Linked DNA regions of Homo sapiens: regions 1, 2, 4, 5, 6 and 7 are each linked to region 3. The links are contacts of gene promoters, found by promoter capture Hi-C in blood cells and fetal thymus (Javierre and others, 2016). All regions are on one chromosome and are shown on one strand. Each heading gives the region's core, a stretch centred on a gene start or on the middle of the fragment in contact. The rest is flanking DNA. Distances are from core to core; before and after follow the strand shown. Region 1 overlaps MYCBP2 (MYC binding protein 2). Region 2 overlaps MYCBP2 (MYC binding protein 2). Region 3 holds the start of RBM26 (RNA binding motif protein 26). Region 4 overlaps MYCBP2 (MYC binding protein 2). Region 5 overlaps MYCBP2 (MYC binding protein 2). Region 6 overlaps MYCBP2 (MYC binding protein 2). Region 7 has its middle 5.3 kb from the start of KCTD12.

Region 1 (2,700 bases), core at 13-2,512, 2.2 Mb before region 3:
CAAATTTGAAATTATACAGTTTCAAAAATAATCATCTTTGGAATCAAATAGACTTAAATTCAAATCCTGGCTTTGGACAAATTATTTGCTGTGTGCTCTTAAGCTAAAAAGTTACCATCCCTGAATCTGTAAAATGTATAAACTGGTCATCAAATAATCTCTCTTACACAGTTAAAAAATTCAAACTAAATAATGCATATAAAGTATATAATACATTGCCTAACAAATAGTAAGTGTTTAATACATGTTAGATTATCAGAATAACTACCTTACATGCCAAAAAGAGGCAATTTGGGACACCATTTTTTTTTTTCTTGAACAATAACATAATAAAGATCTCTCCATATCTGGTCTAGATGACACCTTATATACCATAATAATCCCTGAAATTATAAACCATATATGAACTCTGATATGGTTTGGCTCTGTGTCCCCACCCAAATCTCAACTCGAATTATAAATCTCCACATGTTGGGGGAGTGACCTGGCGGGAGGTGACTGAATCATGGGGGCAGACTTCCCCCTTGCTGTTTTCCTTACAATATCTGGTTGTTTGATAAGTGTGTAGGCCTTTCCCCTTCTCTCTCTCCTGCTGCCATGTAAGACTTGCCTTGCTTCCCTTTTGCCTTCTGCCATGATTGTAAGTTTCCTGAGGCCTCCTCAGCCATGTAGGGAACTGTGAGTCAATTAAACCTCTTTTCTTTATAAATTACCCAGCCTCAGGTAGTTCTTTATAGCAGTGTGAAAATGGACTAATAGAAACTCTTTGATAGTTCTCCTTCACCTAGAATGTTGCCTGACACATATTGTTTATTATATATCTGTTGAATTTATTTTTATTTTGAATCTTAAGGTACAAAGATTTAACTTTAAAAAAGGAATACACATAAGATGCCAATGGCTTTTTAAAACTCAGACGTTTCTTAACATTATTGACAACACTACAGCTCCCTATGATCAGAAGACAGTGTTCAAAATCACAAACTTTTTTTTTTTTTTTTTTGAGACGGCGTTTCACTCTTGTTGCCTGGGCTGGAGTACAATGGCATGATCTTGGCTCACCTCAACCTCCGACTCCCGGGTTCAAGCGATTCTCCTGCCTCAGCCTCCTGAGTAGCTGGGATTACAGGCATGCGCCACCACGCCCAGCTAATGAGACGGGGTTTCTTTTGTCACCAAACTGCCAGCGAACAAATCCCAGTGCAGTTGCTCACTAGCTGTATGATCGTGGGCGAACTGCCTAAATGCTCTATGCCTCATTTGTAAATGGAGATAAAACTTTTTAATTCATTGGGTTGCTGTGGGGAGTTAAAAATGCACAAAATGTTTAAAATAGTGCTTGACAAAGATGAAATAAATGTTTTCATTATTACCGCTTTGATTAATTCACCTCAGGAAATAAGTAAAATGTAAAGCACTAGCCTTCACAATTACAAGGTCTGGGTACCAGCCTTTGTTTCCCTTCTGAGTCTTCAAGAAGTCACAAAACTTCTTTGAACTTCAGTTATTATAATTGTAAGATGCAAGACCTAATACTGATTTCGAAGTGTAATTATAAAAACAGAGAGATAATATTAAAGATGCTGAAACCTATGAAGTGCTCTACAGATATTATTTAAATCACTATTACTAACTACATATACCTAGTATAGAAAATAAGTATGATCTAAATTGGTGTTTTCCAAATGTGGGCCCAAAGTTCTCTGATCCATGGCAGAATTAGAAAAACTAAGGCTATAACAGAGTCTTCCATTCTAAGACCTTTCCATCTGGGGCTATTAAAATGTCTTTTATTTTATAAGACATTGCTGATAAAAAGTAGTACATTTTTAAAGAGTGTTTTTACTTAATAAGTTCTCAGGAAAAATATTTTTGGAAAATTTTACAAATCTATCACATCCTAGGGTCTGAGTAACACTGATCCAGTTGAGAGACTCTCAACTTTTCTTCTATCTTCACACCATTGCTAGATGCAAAATTTTCCCCATCACTGATGTTCTCAGTGTGTGGTATCCAATGGGGCTCACTTAGCAGTACATCAGAAACTCTGGTTTGGCCTAAGTAGGTATTACAATTTGACAAATGCTGTCTACAGATTCTGATATTTCCATCCTATTACAGATTACTAGCTAGCTGAAGTCAGACTAATGAAGTAAGAAAACAATGTAGTCATCTCTAGGCAATTTTGAGAAATATTAGGTTGACGTAACAGATCCAAAGGGGGTATTGCACTGAAATATAGTACTCATGTATTTCCATTCAGTGCCAAATGTGCTAGTTAATGCCTAAACGAGCAAAAAAGGTAAAGCAAACAATAATAAAAACAACAAATGATGGCTCCCAATTGTCTACAGGCAACTAGCCCTAACCACTTAATATGACATACTGGTTTGTCACAGACTGAGCTCACCAACTGTACCAACCTCACCTTTTGCTGCTTCTTATAACACAACTATACATCCTTTGTGAAATGTCTTTCCCCTTTCTCTAGCAGGCAAAAAAAGAAAAACAAATTCTTTCAAGATGCAATTTAAATGGCCACAGTTCTGCAAGCCATCCTCCGCACCCTTGGCACTTGATTTGTTTTTTTCTCCCGAAGGATTTTTGTCTAACTCCAGAGTCAATTACCCACCAAATACATAGGGCTCACATGGGTTTCTCCCACCAAAGGGAGCAATGATAAGTTATTTATCTCTATAA
Region 2 (2,700 bases), core at 52-2,551, 2.2 Mb before region 3:
TCAGCATGTGGAACAGCAGGTATCCAAAGCTAAGTCTGTTTGACTACAAAACTTCCTACTACTCCTGACTTTAAGAAACATTATGCAAAAATATAATATAATGTGGTACAACATTAGGTACGTAGTAGGTACTCCATAAATATTTAAGTACCATATAAAGGATAACTTACAAATAGCTATAGGTAACAAACAAAATTCATGGAATACTCTTCACTATTTTAACTACATAATAATACCTCTTATTCACAATAGAAACATTCAGTTGAAACTACCTTTAAAGGAACCACTTTGTCAAGTCTGATCTCAGCTATATCACTGGGTGAGTCATCCGTTGTGTACGTTCCTTTCACTAATTCCAGAGATGTCCATCTGTGGGAATGAGTTGAATCTCCTGCATGTTCACTCTAAAAAAAAAAAATGAAACACAAAAATTCCAACAGACTCTTAATTTTATTGTATGAACAATTTTGATTTATAATTATTATTTTTAAAATTTATTTTCTTGAATATAAAATTAGCCATTAGTATTTTCCCATACATATGAAAGAAAAAGTTGGGGGTACTATATACATTTTTATGTGATTTCTTGAGAAGACTACAACATAAATAAGCTTTTCTCATCTGATGACTTAAACTATTTCTACTTCTTCACATTTATAAAGCCTAATGAAGTAGGGAATAAATTCAAATTAACTAGTGAAAGGAATCAAGTTAGAGATAGAGATAGACTTGCTATTTAATAGGCAATGATTTACATGCTACCCCATCTGTCCCATTTTAATAAAACTCAGGTACTTTAATTTTAGAGAATATAGAAAGATATAGCTCAATCAGTCAACAAATAGTGTCTTCACTAAGAATCACCCATTAGTACTCTATGACATAGTCCATCTCAACATTGTGTTTCTTGAAAAATGACAATATAAAAAAAAAAAAAAACTACTCAAGACTTGTCATCAGGGACTTAGCTAAACACTTTTAGTCTTTAATTCTACTTTAAATCTTTCTCTTTCTGAAAGTACAAAAAATATGAAGCAGTAGTGACCCAAGGTGGAAAGATGGAACACAAACAATCAGGTAAAATCATTATTTTTCAATTTCTTTTCTTTCTTTTTTTTTTTTTTTTTTTTGAGACAGGGTCGGGTCTCACTCTGCTGCCCAGGCTTGAGTGCAGTGGCATGATTATGGCTCACTGCAGCCTCAACCTCCCGGGCTCAAGTGATCCTCCCACCCCAGCCTCCAGAGTAGCTGGGATTACAGGCGTGCGTTGTATTTTTCGTAGAGATAGGGTTTTGCCATATTGCCTAGGCTGGCCTTGAACTCCTGTGCTCAAGTCATCCAACTGCCTCAGCCTCTCAAAGAGCTGAGATTACAGGTGTGAGCCACTGTGGCCAGTCTTTTTCAATTTCTTTAGTGTCATTCATCAGTGATTGATCTAGTAAACCCCTGAACATACTATGACAATGGTAAATCCTGATACACAACCCACTAATCAGGATAAATACTAAAAGGGTGATACTTACATCATCAACCAACACCTCTAATTCATATTCATGAATTCCACCTCCTCCATAGACAGAGAAACCAACCACAACTATTCCAGGTTTGTCTACTGAAAAACAGATTGCATCAGGGGACCCGTTCCCAGTGTTCCAACTTCTGCCCTGACTTGTTTTTGTAAATCGGTTAGCACTAGCTTTTACAGAGTGAAGAGAATTAAGTCCATCAACCTGTGAACAATAAAAGCAATTGTATCAGTAGTTGGTATACCTTTAACAAAACCATCCAAAGGTTTCTAAGAAGTCTAATAAAATAACCTTTATTTAATAAGTGGATATAAACATTCCTAAAGGTATGTTCTACTGAGAGATTAACTCACAATAAAACCAGATTTTATCATTCTAAATTCACAAATCAATGTCACTTGACAGTATTTTCTTCCTTTAGCCATATGAAACTATACTTTCCACTTAATTTATAATGTCAGAAGTACAAGCTTGTCTTATCAGTCATAATGTATGAATAAATCATCAGACTTTGAAAAGAGATGCTAAAAATTTCATCGAAATTCTATAGATCAACAGTTTTCAAACTATGCAACACAGAGCTCTAGAAATTCTGCAGAGATAGGTGTGCAAGGAAGAGGTAAATTTATGGTTCCCCTCTTCAACCAGACTATGTCCTCTCTCCTCTTACCTGTGAATTTGCAAGTAAAACTTCATTTGAAGAAAATGGTCTATACCCTAAGATTGAATACTACGAATATATACAGTGATATTTTTGTAACAGCATTCAGTATTTGAATACGTACACATACACATGTGCAACTATACTAATTATAGACTTTCACTAGAGAGAATTAGAGAACTTACTTTGGGTTGAAATCGCTCTTTTTATTTACAAAGCCTACTTCTAATCTAACTTGGCTACAGAATTTTGGGAGACTAAATAGATACAAAAATGGAAGTTTATGATTCTAACAAAAATTGCAAACTTCTCTGAGAAAGAAATATTCATCTCTAAGCCAGGACCTGTGGGAACTCCCAAAGTTGTATACCAGGCACCCTGTAACTTTTGGTATTCCTTTTCATTGGAAAGGTAAGTTTAAAGGGGAGAACTCTTTAGTAAACTTTGGAAGGGGATCTACACATTATAGACTTTCCTGCATCCTGCAGAGTATACTATCAAAGGAAGGTATTA
Region 3 (2,700 bases), core at 47-2,546:
ACCAATTCTGATTAAGCACTTTGGTCCATGTCATATTTTGTATTAACAAGTCGTCAAAACACTCCTTAAATTTTCCAATCTAAGACTATTTCAGCACTCTAACCGCAGCCCCCAACACAAAATCTATCTATAGCATCCCACTTAAAACTGCTAAATATTCCATATGGATGAAGATTCAATTTTCTTCCTCCTCTCCAAGCTAACGAACGCGTAGGCGGGAAAGGGGAATTTTACTGGCCACCTCAGCACCTGTTACATCTTCAATCAGTGAAGAGAGGTGCAGATGAGCCAGACAGCACATGGGAGACGTGGCCTTGCTTTCAGGAATTATATTTAGGTGAAACGTGAGTGATTTAAGCTAGAACTGCCCGAATCCCCAATAAAGGCCGTCTACTTCATTTAGAAAAACAAGGTAAAATAATCTGTAGGAAGTAAAATACAGTCGGTTTCACTAAAATAAACCGATTTTGAGGCCCCCGGAAAATATTGCGGGTGGGGGTTGGAGACGGTCTATATATAACGGGAAAACGAGAGCAGCTCAGCAATAAAATAAAGCTCGACTCAGGCTCTCGGGGGTATCCTGAATCTGGAAGCGAGGTGGACGAGGAGGAGAAGCCACAGAACCCTGGGACCTCCGTTCACCGCTTCGGCCTCCACCGCAGGCACTTGGGGAAACTGCACAGATCTCTGGGTCCGCCTATCTCCCACTGCCATCCCTGCAAAGAGATATCCCCCGGATACTCACATGGGCTCGAGAGTCTTGCTGAGCCAGGACTTGAGTGCCTCGAAGTTTTCAATGATCATTTTAGAAACCATCCACAGCGGCCCTAAGGCCCGTCACACTCCTCCGCCCGCCCAGGTCGCGGCCGCTACAGCCGCCGCTGCCCCCGCCCCCTCCTCCGCGCGCCGCCCGCGTGGGCCGCGGTGGGAGGCGCCGGTGGCAGGTTCCCGCGGGCCCCGGTCGGCGAACAGCTCTGCAAGGACCGCCGCAGGCCACAAGTGCACGGGGTGCCAGGAGCTCCCCGTCCCCGGCCCCCAGCCCGGGCTGAAACAGCAACGGTTTGCCCGGGCCCTCCCCCTTCCCTCTTCCCCAGCAAATCTACCCAGACCGGAAGCGCGACACGCGCTTAGACCCGAGCCTTCTCTCAGCCTCGGGACCAGGTGCTTGTTGGCTACGTCGAAAAGGCAAAAGTAAAGAAAGCGAAGGCGAAGGGCAGCTCAATGGGAACGATTCAGGGGGTCTTCCCGGCTCCCAGCACCCCCAAGAAGATGGCTGCCGGTAAATCTCGCGAGAATTGATGAAGTCTCGCGGTGGCTCCCGGAGCCTGCTGGGAGAGACGTAAGGTCGGCGGAGAATGCGCGGGTCGAGTGCTGTAGTTCGATTTTTGCGTGTGTGCGTTGCTTGCGGCCTTTGTGCCTTTTTATTCTTTGCTTACCTTTATGATATAAAGACCTTATTTCTTACAAGGAGGAAAAGACCGCTGACTTCAGAAACAGCGGGAACCCCAGCTCGTCCCCGGTAAGACGGCCGTGGCCTGTCAGCTGGAACGGTCCTGCCGGATGGATCGCTCTTTGAGAGCGTACACTCCCGCGTGCGCGACACCAGGCGGCCCGTAGGTTCCAGGTGCCGAGCACACTACCTCCTCAGTTTACCTAAGTGCCCTACCAGTATCATATTCTGTGTATGCTGTGATGTGAACGAGGTTTGTAAACACAGGCTGGTCTAATGGAGCCCAATGAGACCGCCAGAGGATTAGTGTCTTGTCCAACAGTACTTGACTTGCTGGTAGAGCCCTAATGACTGAGGGCTGCCCACAAGGGAAAGGTGAGAGAACCTTCACGTCTCTCAGGTAGTTTCCAGCCTGCACTTTCCCCCAGCTAAAGATAAGTTTTGTTATTTTTAAAATTCTCTTTATTTAGAGCAAATTCAGCCCTATCTCAGATCGGGAAATTATATAGTATCAAAAGAGAGAGTCTTCATATTAGCAACCCAAATAAATAAACTATTTTCCTGGGTGATCAAATAAGTTTGATTCCTGCTTGAGTTCTATTTAGATACTAGGTGGAATTTTACAAAGGGTCTACGTTCCATGAACTGTAATGGAATGAAAATATTCACAATCTAAAGACATTTTCAGTAAGTAGATCAATAAAAGCTCTTTATGAGAGACACCGATAGGCTAAATTGTTCTTAGGAACTCTTGAGTTTATAATTTGCTAGAGTGAAGTGTCTTTAAGGATTAGGTGGAAAGATTATGAACTACAAAGCAAGACATTTGTTTTAAAATACAGCATATAGAGTAGAATACAAATTAGAATCCAGCTACTGAATAACCAGGGTGTTGATTAAAGTGATTTAGCTGAGTGAAATAAACCAGACATGAAAGGACAAATATTATGATTCCACTTACATTAAGTACCTAGAGTAGTCAAAACTCCTAGAGACAGAAGGTGGAATGGTAGCAAGAGCAGGGGTGGAGAGGGTGCCCAGGAGAAGGGGAAATGAGGAGTTATATTTCAGTGGATAATAGAGTTTCAGTTTAGGATGATTTAGATTCTGGAGATGAGTGGTGTTGTGTGGGTTGCACAATATGAATGTACTTAATGCAGTGGACCATATACTTAATGAAAACGGTAGGTTTTATATGTATTTTACAATAAAAATTGTTTATAAATTTAATACTGCCGAAAGTTAAAATT
Region 4 (2,700 bases), core at 187-2,686, 2.3 Mb before region 3:
AGAAGAAATCAAAATGGGGCCGGATACAGTGGCTCACGCCTGTAATCCCAGCACTTTGGGAGGCCGAGGTGGGTGGATCACGAGGTCAGGAGATCGAGACCATCCTGGCTAACGTGGTGAAACCCCATCTCTACTAAAAAAAATACAAAAAATTAGCTGGGCATGGTGGCGGGCGCCTGTACTCCCAGCTACTTGGGAGGCTGAGGCAGGAGAATGGCGTGAACCCAGGAGTCAGAGCTTGCAGTGAGCCGAGATTGCACCACTGCACTCCAGCCTGGGCGACAGGGCAAGACTCCATTTCAAAAAAAAAGAAAAAAAAAAAAAAAAAGAAATCAAATGGGAATAAGAAAACTAAGAAAACATTGTGAATTGAATGAAAATAAAAACAGAATACCCCAAATTTGTGAAATGCAGCTAATGTAGTGCTTAGAAGAAAATAATAGCATTAAATACTTAGATGAGAAAAGAAAGGTCTTGGAGTCTACGATCTGATCTTGGACCTTAAGAAGTCAGAAAAAGATGAACAAATGAATACAAGGCAAACATAGGGAAAGAAATAAAGTTGTGATTATTAAAAGAAGCAAAAATAGAGGAAAATCAATGAAACAAAAAGCTAGTTCTCTGAAGAGATCAAACTGATGAATCTTTAGAGAAACTATTTCAGAAAAAAAGAATGAAGACACAAATCACCAAGACACATCACTACAGGTTCTACAGATATTAAAAAGACATAAGGGTATATTATGAACAACTTATGGCAATAAATCCAGAAACTTAGATGAAATGGACAAATTGCTTGAGTGTCAGAACTACTAAAGCTTACCCAAAAAGAAACAGATAACTGAAACAGCTCTGTTATCTATTAAAGAAAGTGAATTTTTAGAATAGAGCATTTATTTTGCTACTTAAGTACTAGTTAGATTATATATGAGTCTCTTTTAGATAGTTCTTTCATCTTGTTTACCTCTTTCATCATTTATTTTTGCTTTTTAAAAACATCTTTATTGAGATATAGTTCACATACCATGCTATTCATCTGTTTAAAGCATAGAATTCAATGGTTTTTAGTACATTCAGATATGTGCAACTATCGTCGTCAGTCAATATTACAGCATTTTTATTACTTCTAAAAGAAGCACTATATCATGTAGCTACCATCCCCTAGTTTTTTTTTTCACTGAAGGAAAATGAACTGTATACAAGCTAGTATCACATGTTGACTAAAATGCATAGCAATATATGGATTATCTTACGGAATAAAAGAAATGAAGAAAGAGAAACATATAAAGGTACCACTGTGCTCTTGTCTGGGTGACAGAGTTAAGACCAGGTCTCTTAAAAAAGAATCCATTCTGATAGAAATTCTCAGCAAACTAGGAATAGAAGAAAACATTCTCCAATCTTATTAAAAAGATTCACCCCCAAAAAATCTACAGTTCACATCACACTTAATAATGAATGGTTTATACTTTCTTTTCAAGATCCAGAACAAGTCAGAGCTATCTGTTCTCATTACTTCTATTCAGCATGGCGCTTAAGGGCTTAATCAATGCAATAACACAATAATATAAGAAAAGAAATTTAAGGCATATAGTTTAGAAAGGAAAAAACCCAAATTTATTGAAGACTACATGATTATCTAAGAAAACCCCAAAGAGTCTATAAAAAGTTTCTGAAATTAGTAAGTGAATTTAAGATCACAGGGTAGAAATCTAATATACAAAAGTCAATTCTATTTTTATACACTAGAAATGAACAATTGGAAAGTGAAATAAAAAATACCATTTACAATAGCTTTACAAATGTTAAATGTTTAGGAATAAATTTAATAAAATATGTACAAGATGTGTACAATGAATTACAAAACACTGCTGAGAGAAATTTTAAACAGATGTAAGAAAACCCCTGATACATATCATGTTCACAGATACGAAGACTCAATATTATTGACATGGCGATTCTCCCTAAACTATCAATTTGGTGTTAATTCCAGTCAAAATTCCATCCCCACCGCCCCCCCCCCTTTTTTTTTTAAAGAAACGGTCAAGCTGATTCTAAGCTTTATATGGAAATGCAAGAGATCTAGAATAGCCAAAATAACTTAGATAAAGAACAAAGTTAGAACCTGATATCAAGACTTTTTATAAAGCTACAGTAAGTAAGACACTTTGATGGATCAATGGAGCAGAATAGAGTCCAGAAACAGACCTACCATTTATGGTAAATTGACTATTGATAAATGATAGTCTTCTCAATGAATCGTAGTAGAACAATTGAACATCTATATGCAAAAGATAAGCCTCAATTCTTACACTGCACATAAAAATTAAAATGTATACAGTTCTAAAGAAAAGAACTAAAACTATAACATTTCTAAAGGAAAAGAAGAGAATATCTGTGTGACCTTGGGTTCTAGACCATACATAAAAATCATGAATCAAAAAAACAAGAAAAAACTGGACTTTATCAAACTTAAAAACTTCTGTTCTCTGAAAGATAAGACACAGACTAGGAGAAAATATTTGAAAACACATAATTGGTAAAAGACCTGCAAAGATCTGTATGTGAGTGTTCACAGCAGCTTTACTAATAGTAGCCAAACAGCAGAAACAACCCAAATATCCATCAAAAAATGAAAGGATAAACAAATTACGGTAAATCCATATAATGGAACACTTCTCAGCAACCAAAAGAATGAAC
Region 5 (2,700 bases), core at 199-2,698, 2.3 Mb before region 3:
TGTTCAGCTTCATTCCAAAAAACAAATATAAGTGGATTTTTCTTATCTAATTTGTATCAGTTTTCTTCATCCCCACTATTAGATAAGATGATGAAAAAAACTCTATCTACTGAAATTTTACCAGAATTTTTAGAGAAAAGAAAATTTTCACAATGTCATTCTTGGCTATTTCTACTTTCGAATTCCTACTGTAATTTGTATGTCTTGTGTGTCACTACTTATATTCTACTTCATAAGATTTTTGTTTGCGTGTTTTATTTTCACAATCCTCATTAAAGTGTTAACACTTGACAGGAATTGTCTTACCCAGGAAAATGTATGCTCAGAACCAAAAAACATTTGCTGAACTAAAGGCTTTATGAATATATTGAAATAAAGAAGAGTGCAGCAAAGGCTGCTGGTGAAGGTCTCTAGAATGGTACAGATGAACTGGATATATCTGAGTCTATATAGTTACATTAATGTATGAGAACATACAATTACATCAATGTAAAGTACCTCTTTACCTCCACTGCCAAAGCAAACTACTTAAAGCAGGGTTTCCCAAATATTTTGGTGAAATATTAATTGGTATTATTACTATCTCCACCCTGTTTCTCTCTTCTCCACTTGCAAGGGGTCCCACGATAAGGATTAAACATAGTCAGACAAGTTTCTTGATTTCAGAACTTCTCAGAATCCCTAATATGTTAATGTAGATTGTGTGAATGTCTCAAGTGAGACTACCATATACAAGTTGAGCATCTCTAATCTGAAAACCCCAAATCCAAAATGATCTAAAATCTAAAACCTTTGGGTGCTGACATGATGCTCAAAAAAAGTGCTCACTGGAGCATTCTGAATTTTGAAATTTTGAATTAGGGATGCTCAACTGGTAACTGTAATACAACTATTCCAAAATCAGAAAAAGTCCAAAATCTAGAATACTTCTGGTGCCAAGCATTTCAGATAAAAGATACTCATCCCAAACCAGGTTTTCGAAATTTATCTGATCACAGAAACCCCTTTCCTTGAGGAGCATCAGGAAAAATAATGTTACAAGAAATTCACACTGATAAGTACTAGAGTTTTCTCCTTGTTATCCTATTATACAGACAGTTTAAAAGTAAAGAAAAGATTAATGCCTAAAACAAAAGAAATATGTTTTTCAAAGTTAATGGTTGTGATGATTACTTCTAGGTGTCCACTTGACTGGATTAAAGAATACCTAGAAACCTGGTAAGGCATTACTTTTGCGTCTGTGAGGGTGTTTCCAGACAAGACTGGCGTGTGAGTGTGAGTGGAGTAGGTGGAGAAGATCTGCTTTCAATGTGGACAGGCGCTGTCCAATCAGCTGGGGACACAGAGCAAACAAAAACAGAGGAGAGGTGAATGTATTTCTATTTTTTGGAGCTTGGATAAACACTTCCTCTACTGTCCCTTGACATTTGAACTCCAGGGTCCCCAGCATTTAGACTCCAGGACTTATTATTAGTGGCCCTCCTGGATTCTCAGACCTTTGGCCTCAGACTGAGAGTTACATCATCTGCTTCCCTGGTTCTGAGGCTACCTGCATCTCAGGATCTCCAGCTTGCAGGTGTGGCCCATAATGGGACTTTTCAGACTCCATAATTGTGCGAGCCAATTTCCCTAATAAATCCTCTCATATATCTAATATAGACATGCATTGCTTAAGGATGGGGAAATGTTCTGAGAAATGAATCACCAGGCAATTTCATCATTGTGCAAACATCAGAGTGGACTTAAGCAAACCTAGATGGTACAGATTACCTGGGTTATATGGTACAGCCTATTGGTCTTAGGCTACAATCCTGTACAGCATGTTACCCTACTGAATACTGCAGGTAACTGTAACACAATGGTAAGGATTTGCATATCTAAACATATCTAAGCATAGAAAAGGTACAGGAAAATCTTATAGGACCACCATTATATACGCTGTTCGTCACTGACCAAAATGCTATGAGGTACATGACTGTATAGATATCCTATTGGTTCTGTCTCTCTGGAGAACCCAGATTAACACAATGATCGATTTAAAAATGCATTCATTCATCCATATTTGCTGTCATTATGTGCCAGGCACTGAGCTACACTGGAAGATCCAAACATGAATGCTTTCTGCTCACAGTCAGGAGAGGCACAGACACACCCACAGGGGAGAGACAGGGTAACAGCAGCGTGGAAGAGAGCACACCTGACTAGTAACATCAGGAAATGGAGGGAGAGAGTCATGAGGGCTACAGTGCCTGGGCGGACACCAGAAATTATTACAAAATGTTAATGCACTAATTAAATACTCATTATGAAAGAGAAAACAAGGCCTCAAATAAGTTATGAAACCTATCCATATGTCTAGTGCAAGTTAATGGGCAAAACTAGAAGATAAAAATAATTTTGACTCTAGTTATTTGAAGTAAGTAGTAGCTCATGGCTTTAAAGAAAATACCGATTTCAATGCCATCAATGGTAACATGAAGAGTGTAGAGTCCAATAGCCCCTGGAGTCCAATTTGCACAATAAGTCCCATCATTATTGACACGGATCAGCATATTCTCACTGGGTCTGAAAAGAAATAAGATGGATATTGGAAATTTTACTTTTGGTTAAGCAGTCAACATCATTACGATAGTTCAGCAAACATTTAATTTGTTTGCATACCTCCTGGCAATCCTACCACCCTGCCATAGTACGCTTGCC
Region 6 (2,700 bases), core at 23-2,522, 2.3 Mb before region 3:
AGATTAAATATGTTACTCTCTGAAAGTCATATAGCTATTAAGTTGTAGAGGTGGGTTTTGAATCAGAGCTGAATCTAAAGTTCACCTTTTCTAAAACACTCTAAAAGCTAAGTGATTTATATTTTCTCTAAATGAAATCTACATCTCATCTGCATCATTTTCTAAAAGATGGCTTTATAAGAAACATTTCTTAACAGGAGGTCAAAAATATTTGTTGAATGAACCTATAAATTGCTGGACAATCTTCAATAATGTTTTTCTTAAAAGTCTTCAGTAAGATAACTTAATCATCTGACTATAATTTTTAGGCCAAATCTTCATTTTAGCAAGTGATCTCTCTGATAATTGATCACTATATTACCCTGTTCTTCTTGGGTTTTTAAAATTATTCTTGAGGTAGAATCCCCAGCTCCAATTTGGGGCTGTTGATACCAACTGGTCCAGATCATGTAACTGTTTTTTTTTTTTTTTTAAATCGATTAAGGGCTATTTATATCCCCAAAGTTTTATTATCTACTTAGAATGATGGCAGCTCCAAGAGTTATCAAGCTTCAGTTGGGGTGGAGAGATAACTGTGAATGTGTACGTCATTGGAACTCCTGGTCCACAAAAGTTTAGTGGAAGGGATAATGGTTGTAACATTTGGCTTAGATACCTAACAAGTAAGATTGTAAAGGTCAATTTATTCTCGAACAATCACTGAATGATCTCCAGATTTCCCTTCAACTAAGATGCAAAATTTAGAGATGCACATTTATAGCTATGTCATATAGAAGGAATGTCAATCACACATTAGAAATTATCCCATGCCTTTTCCTTCAAAAATTAAATTTTAAAAATTATATGCAAATAAAACAATTTTTTTATTTGTAGTAGTCAGATCACTCAATATTCTTTTTTATCCTCATACTTACCAGTGTCTCCACTGTTAACTCTTCTTCTAGGAATAGCTTTAACTCGTGCAGGTAAAATGGAGTGTTGTTTATCATATTCGGAAGCAACAACTGAGTATGATCTTTGGAAGACAGTTCTCTTTGCAAGATCAGTATCAGTTATGGGACTGGTTTCTAAACTGTACATGGAACAATGCAACAGATACAAACTCAGAAGAGCTGAATGAAATGTAACTATACTTATAATGATGCAAAATATGTGACTCAATATTTCATGTGGAGAAACAAAATCAAAGCCAAATTGATAATCTCTCTTTAAATCATAATTTGATCTTTTCAAATGCAGTAACATTTTGACTGATTTCAGCATTGTACCTTAAAACTTATGGTTTTCTTAAATCTACTTTGTATTTTAAATGAAAAAGAAGAAAGGTTTCCAAGCTCCTTTTAGAATCAAAAGCACTGGGGTGGAATTCATGTATCATAATATTCAGGAAAAACAGTCAGATATAATCGTAAGTGCACCAAATAGAAAGAAAATGGATATGTACACATGAAAACCTAATAAAACAGGAAGCAAAATTTGGTTCCAAAGTTTTCTTTTGGTGTCTTCAGTGTTCTGTGAGGTTTCTCACTCTTGGGAAATGTTGCCCAAAGCCCTTGGAGGATGGCTGCATCAAGGTGTCATGAGAGGTAACAAACTGATTTTTGGCACCAGTGTTGTATTTACACTCTATAAAAGAACTTAATGGTTTTATTCAGGCTTAAGTAAACTAACAGCTTTTCTATTTATTAAAGCAACATTTAAAAATACTTACAAAGTTATTAAGAGAGCTATACAATTTCCTTTATTGACACATTTTATAAAAAAAGAGAAATCCCTTCTCTTTCTTATTTCTCTAAAACAAATTTAGAAACTATTCTTTTCGTGAGCTCCTTTTTCTGTCACCTGAATTCAAATTGGAATATTTTTGCTCACCGTTGGTTCTGGAGTTTTTTCCATCATTCAAGCCAGGTTTGAAATCCTGTGTCCCTTGGTAAAATTATCTATTTTCTAATAGACGGCTAACTGCCTAGGTGTTTTCTTTACTCACCACTTCTCTAAGCTTATGTACATTCTTGTTTGAATAGACTATAAATACTGTACATAACTGATTGGCAGTAAATGTCCCTGGGTGTTAGTATAGGTTGCTTGGTTCCAGAATGACTAGAATACAGGGAAACATTAACTTAATTCACTTTATATATGGTGTTACTATAAAGCACAGACATTTGTTCTGTTTTCAGAGGAAGTTTTCTACTAACTTAAAAAAAATTACACAAATTTAAAAAGTGACTTTTTACCAAAAAAAAAAAAAAATTGCTTGTGAAAGAATTCAAGCAACACAAGAAAATCCAAAGAAGAAAGCAAAGATGACATCTTTAATTGAATGGCTACCCTGAGCCAGGTAATTCCTTGTTAGGCTGTCTTGCCTCCTGTAGGATGGTTAGCAACATCCCTGGCCTCAACTCACTAGGATGCCCACTCAACTAGCCCAGTTGTGACAAAGTTATTTCCAAATATTTCCAGATGTCAACAGAGAGGCAAATATCACCCTCAATTGAGAACCACTGATTTAATGAATTCATTTATTCATCAACTTTTTTTTTTTAAATAGAAGGGGTCTTGCTCTGTCACCTAGGCTGAAGTGCAGTGACACAATCGTAGCTCACTGTAACCTCAAAATCCTAGGCTGAAGCCATCCTCTTGCCTCAGCCTCCTGGATTTTGATCCTAAGGGGTAATAGTAACCCAATGAGAATCACAC
Region 7 (2,700 bases), core at 3-2,502, 2.5 Mb before region 3:
TGCTTGTGTTCAAGTAACACTCAGTTTACTTAATAAATGGCCACAAATTACAAGAGTAGTGATGCTGGCAATTCAGATATGCCAAAGAGAAGCCATAAAATGCTGCCTTTAAGTGAAAAGGTGAAAGTTCTCAATTTAATAAGAAAAAAAAAGTTACATCCCAAGGTTGCTAAGATCTATGATAAGAATGTAGACATTGTGAAATTTCTGTGAAATTATGAAGGAAAAATTTGTGCTAGTTTTGCTGTCACACCTCCAAACACAAAACGTATGGCACAGAGTGCATGATAAGTGTGTAGTGAAAATGGAAAAGGCATTAAACTTGTGGATTGAAGACATGAAGAGAAACATGTTCCAATGGACAGCAATCAGGTTCAGTACTACCTACGGTTTCAGTCACCCACTGAGGGTCTTGGAATGTATACCCTTTGTATGAAAGGAGACTACTGTATTCTGCATACCAAAGATTTAAGGAAAGGAATGAGGAACATGAAGAGAAATATAAAGTTAAAGGGGAGGAAGAACTGGTGAAATGAAGTGAGTGCCTTTGAGAATTGAATGAATTTAATATATGTGAAAATGATCTGTACATTGTAAAACACCATTCAAGTGTCAGAATCATTATTTTCCACCACTTATCATGGTGCTTGACAAGTCTTCCCAATAAATACTGAATGAACAAATGAATGGCAGAAACATTAAAATGAACACTATGGGGAAAGGGGAAGAGAGGCAGAATCAGAAATTATCCTGAATAAATATTTATTCCATTTGTCATCCTCCTAATATGTGTGAATCTTTTCTCCATGCAGGCTTTAGAAGTCATTGACTTTTTGCATTTAGAAGGAGAGATTAATTGAATAACATTAAGTGAATCCGGAGGCAAAATGATCTTAATAAAGATTTGGTAAAAGATGTGACAATATTTAACCTGAAGAAAAGAGAACAAAATGTTATATAGGGTACACTGCCAAAATACTAGGTCTAAATTCCAGTTACTCAGGAGGCTGAGGCAGGAGAATTGCTTGAACCTGAGAGGCAGAGGTTGCAGTGAGCCAAGGTCGCACCACTGCACTCCAGCCTAGGCAACAGAGCGAGACCCCATCTCAAAAAACAAAACAAACAAAAAAAAAAAACAGGTCTAGACAGTAAAGAATATCCCAACATTGTATGATTATCTCTAGAGTATGATTTTTATGATTTATAGAACCAAACAAAGAAACAAAAGTTAACAATGTTGATATTTCTATACCCTTAAGATGGTGTTTGGAGCTTATCCAGGAAACAAATAATATAACAAGCATGTATAGAGTACTTACTATGAGCCAGCCCTATTTATAGAACTATACATGTATGAACTCATTTAATCCTAACAATAACTTTATGAGGTTGGTGCTATTACCCAAGTTTTAGATGAGAAACTGAGGCACAGTGAACTAATTTTCCCAAGATCATACAGCAAATAGGTGCTGGAGCTGGGATTTGAACCCAGGCAGTGTAGCCTTAGAATCTGTGCTTTTAAACACTGCATTTTAAATCCCCTTTCCTCTAGGAGTGCTTTACATGTATTAAGAAGTAAGTTATATTATTTTCCCCCTTTACAGATGAGAAACCCAAGGCAAAGAGAAGTAAGGTAACTTGACCAAGATAACACAGCTCTTTATCTCTGCTGGGGGCAGAAATGCTACTCTAAAGTCTACGTGCTTGTGTTCCGCAGTACTGGTAACCAGAAACTCAAAGTAGCCACCCTGAAAGAACTAGGGTTAAGAAAGAGTCAAGTCCTTGGCCCTTATTTCTTCTTTCTGCCTTCTTTTTTCCTTCCAACCTATTTTAGGTTTATGGGTACCTGTGCAGGTTTGTTACACAGGTAAATTGCACGTCGCAGGGGTTTGGTGTACAGATTATTTCATCACCAAAGTAATAAGCATAGTACCTGATAGGTAGTTTTTGGATTCTCACCTTCCATCCAACCTCTACCCTCAAGTAGGCTCCAATGTCTATTGTTCCCTTCCTTGTATCCATGTGTACTTTTACCCAAATAAGAATCTCTATTTGAGCCCCTGGATAGAACTGACACACTATTGTCCTAATCTTTCCCTAATTCAGTCCTGTACACAAAATAAACAAGATTTTATTTCTGGCTCTCTCAAATATCATTACGGTTTGCAAAGCACCAAGTTCCTAGCATGTTCATTTGGCTTTATTCTGATCTCATTAACTCTTGACAAGGATAAAGTGAATCCATGGAAACTGCTGAGATCTAGGTTCCAGTTTCCCAAAGCAAGCAGTATCCACTGGTCTTCTGGGGCTCATAAAATTGAACAAGTGCATTCTACTTGTGGCTTTGCATATCAAACTGAACACAAAAATAGCTGGCCCTCATCACTTGAGTGATTCTGGAACTTCTGACTAAGACTAATTATTAACATCACTGATGTTTCATAAGAATTTGAAAGTCTTGGTTTCCAATCATGATATTAAATTTAGAGAGGAACTATATATAAGTTATCACATTCTAATCACATTCTAGTGTTTTTCTGTTTCGAGTGTTTTCATATTGTCAGGTTGACTTAATTATCACAATTTTGTGAGGTGTTAACCAACCTGTGTTCCAAATGAAGAAAGAAACTCAAAAAGGTTAGGTGACTCACACCTCCTCTCAGGTGGCTGGGATGCAGTGCTGGGATGCACGTGGATGCT

The links. Contacts are between HindIII fragments. The CHiCAGO score rates a contact against its expected background, and 5 or more counts as called.
Region 1: a fragment that was not itself captured here is called in contact with the fragment with the promoter of RBM26 in region 3 in 3 of 17 cell types (total B cells, total CD4 T cells and naive CD8 T cells); the score reaches 9.2 in total B cells.
Region 2: a contact is called between a fragment that was not itself captured here and the fragment with the promoter of RBM26 in region 3, in 1 of 17 cell types (total CD8 T cells). The highest score is 7.1, in total CD8 T cells.
Region 4: a fragment that was not itself captured here is called in contact with the fragment with the promoter of RBM26 in region 3 in 5 of 17 cell types (naive CD8 T cells, naive B cells, total B cells and 2 more); the score reaches 9.5 in naive CD8 T cells.
Region 5: a fragment that was not itself captured here is called in contact with the fragment with the promoter of RBM26 in region 3 in 1 of 17 cell types (naive CD8 T cells); the score reaches 6.0 in naive CD8 T cells.
Region 6: a fragment that was not itself captured here is called in contact with the fragment with the promoter of RBM26 in region 3 in 1 of 17 cell types (total CD4 T cells); the score reaches 10.0 in total CD4 T cells.
Region 7: a fragment that was not itself captured here is called in contact with the fragment with the promoter of RBM26 in region 3 in 1 of 17 cell types (total CD4 T cells); the score reaches 5.6 in total CD4 T cells.

What each region holds. Positions count from the first base shown.
Region 1 is chr13:77,159,081-77,161,780 of GRCh38, forward strand. The region is part of intron 44 of MYCBP2 (MYC binding protein 2); the gene reads right to left. Among named protein-coding and RNA genes, the nearest start is that of MYCBP2-AS2, 79 kb to the left of the region's middle. The HindIII fragment of the contact is 9,980 bases long and covers 1-2,700 here.
Region 2 is chr13:77,176,225-77,178,924 of GRCh38, forward strand. MYCBP2 (MYC binding protein 2) reads right to left here. Exons shown (of 83, transcript NM_015057.5): 35 at 1,524-1,730; 36 at 273-404. Among named protein-coding and RNA genes, the nearest start is that of MYCBP2-AS2, 96 kb to the left of the region's middle. The HindIII fragment of the contact is 1,385 bases long and covers 610-1,994 here.
Region 3 is chr13:79,404,959-79,407,658 of GRCh38, forward strand. RBM26 (RNA binding motif protein 26) reads right to left here and starts at 1,297. Exons shown (of 22, transcript NM_001366735.2): 1 at 746-1,297. The coding sequence starts at 816. It overlaps RBM26-AS1 (RBM26 antisense RNA 1), which reads left to right and starts at 1,351. Exons shown (of 7, transcript NR_038991.1): 1 at 1,351-1,519. RefSeq lists a silencer at 853-1,052 and enhancers at 962-1,953, 1,283-1,582. The HindIII fragment of the contact is 7,810 bases long and covers 1-2,700 here.
Region 4 is chr13:77,071,990-77,074,689 of GRCh38, forward strand. The region is part of intron 68 of MYCBP2 (MYC binding protein 2); the gene reads right to left. Among named protein-coding and RNA genes, the nearest start is that of MYCBP2-AS1, 2.2 kb to the right of the region's middle. The HindIII fragment of the contact is 1,241 bases long and covers 817-2,057 here.
Region 5 is chr13:77,141,996-77,144,695 of GRCh38, forward strand. MYCBP2 (MYC binding protein 2) reads right to left here. Exons shown (of 83, transcript NM_015057.5): 49 at 2,450-2,565. Among named protein-coding and RNA genes, the nearest start is that of MYCBP2-AS2, 62 kb to the left of the region's middle. The HindIII fragment of the contact is 6,140 bases long and covers 1-2,700 here.
Region 6 is chr13:77,089,192-77,091,891 of GRCh38, forward strand. It overlaps MYCBP2 (MYC binding protein 2), which reads right to left. Exons shown (of 83, transcript NM_015057.5): 60 at 915-1,072. Among named protein-coding and RNA genes, the nearest start is that of MYCBP2-AS2, 9.4 kb to the left of the region's middle. The HindIII fragment of the contact is 1,450 bases long and covers 548-1,997 here.
Region 7 is chr13:76,890,353-76,893,052 of GRCh38, forward strand. No RefSeq gene overlaps it. Among named protein-coding and RNA genes, the nearest start is that of KCTD12, 5.3 kb to the left of the region's middle. The HindIII fragment of the contact is 8,198 bases long and covers 1-2,700 here.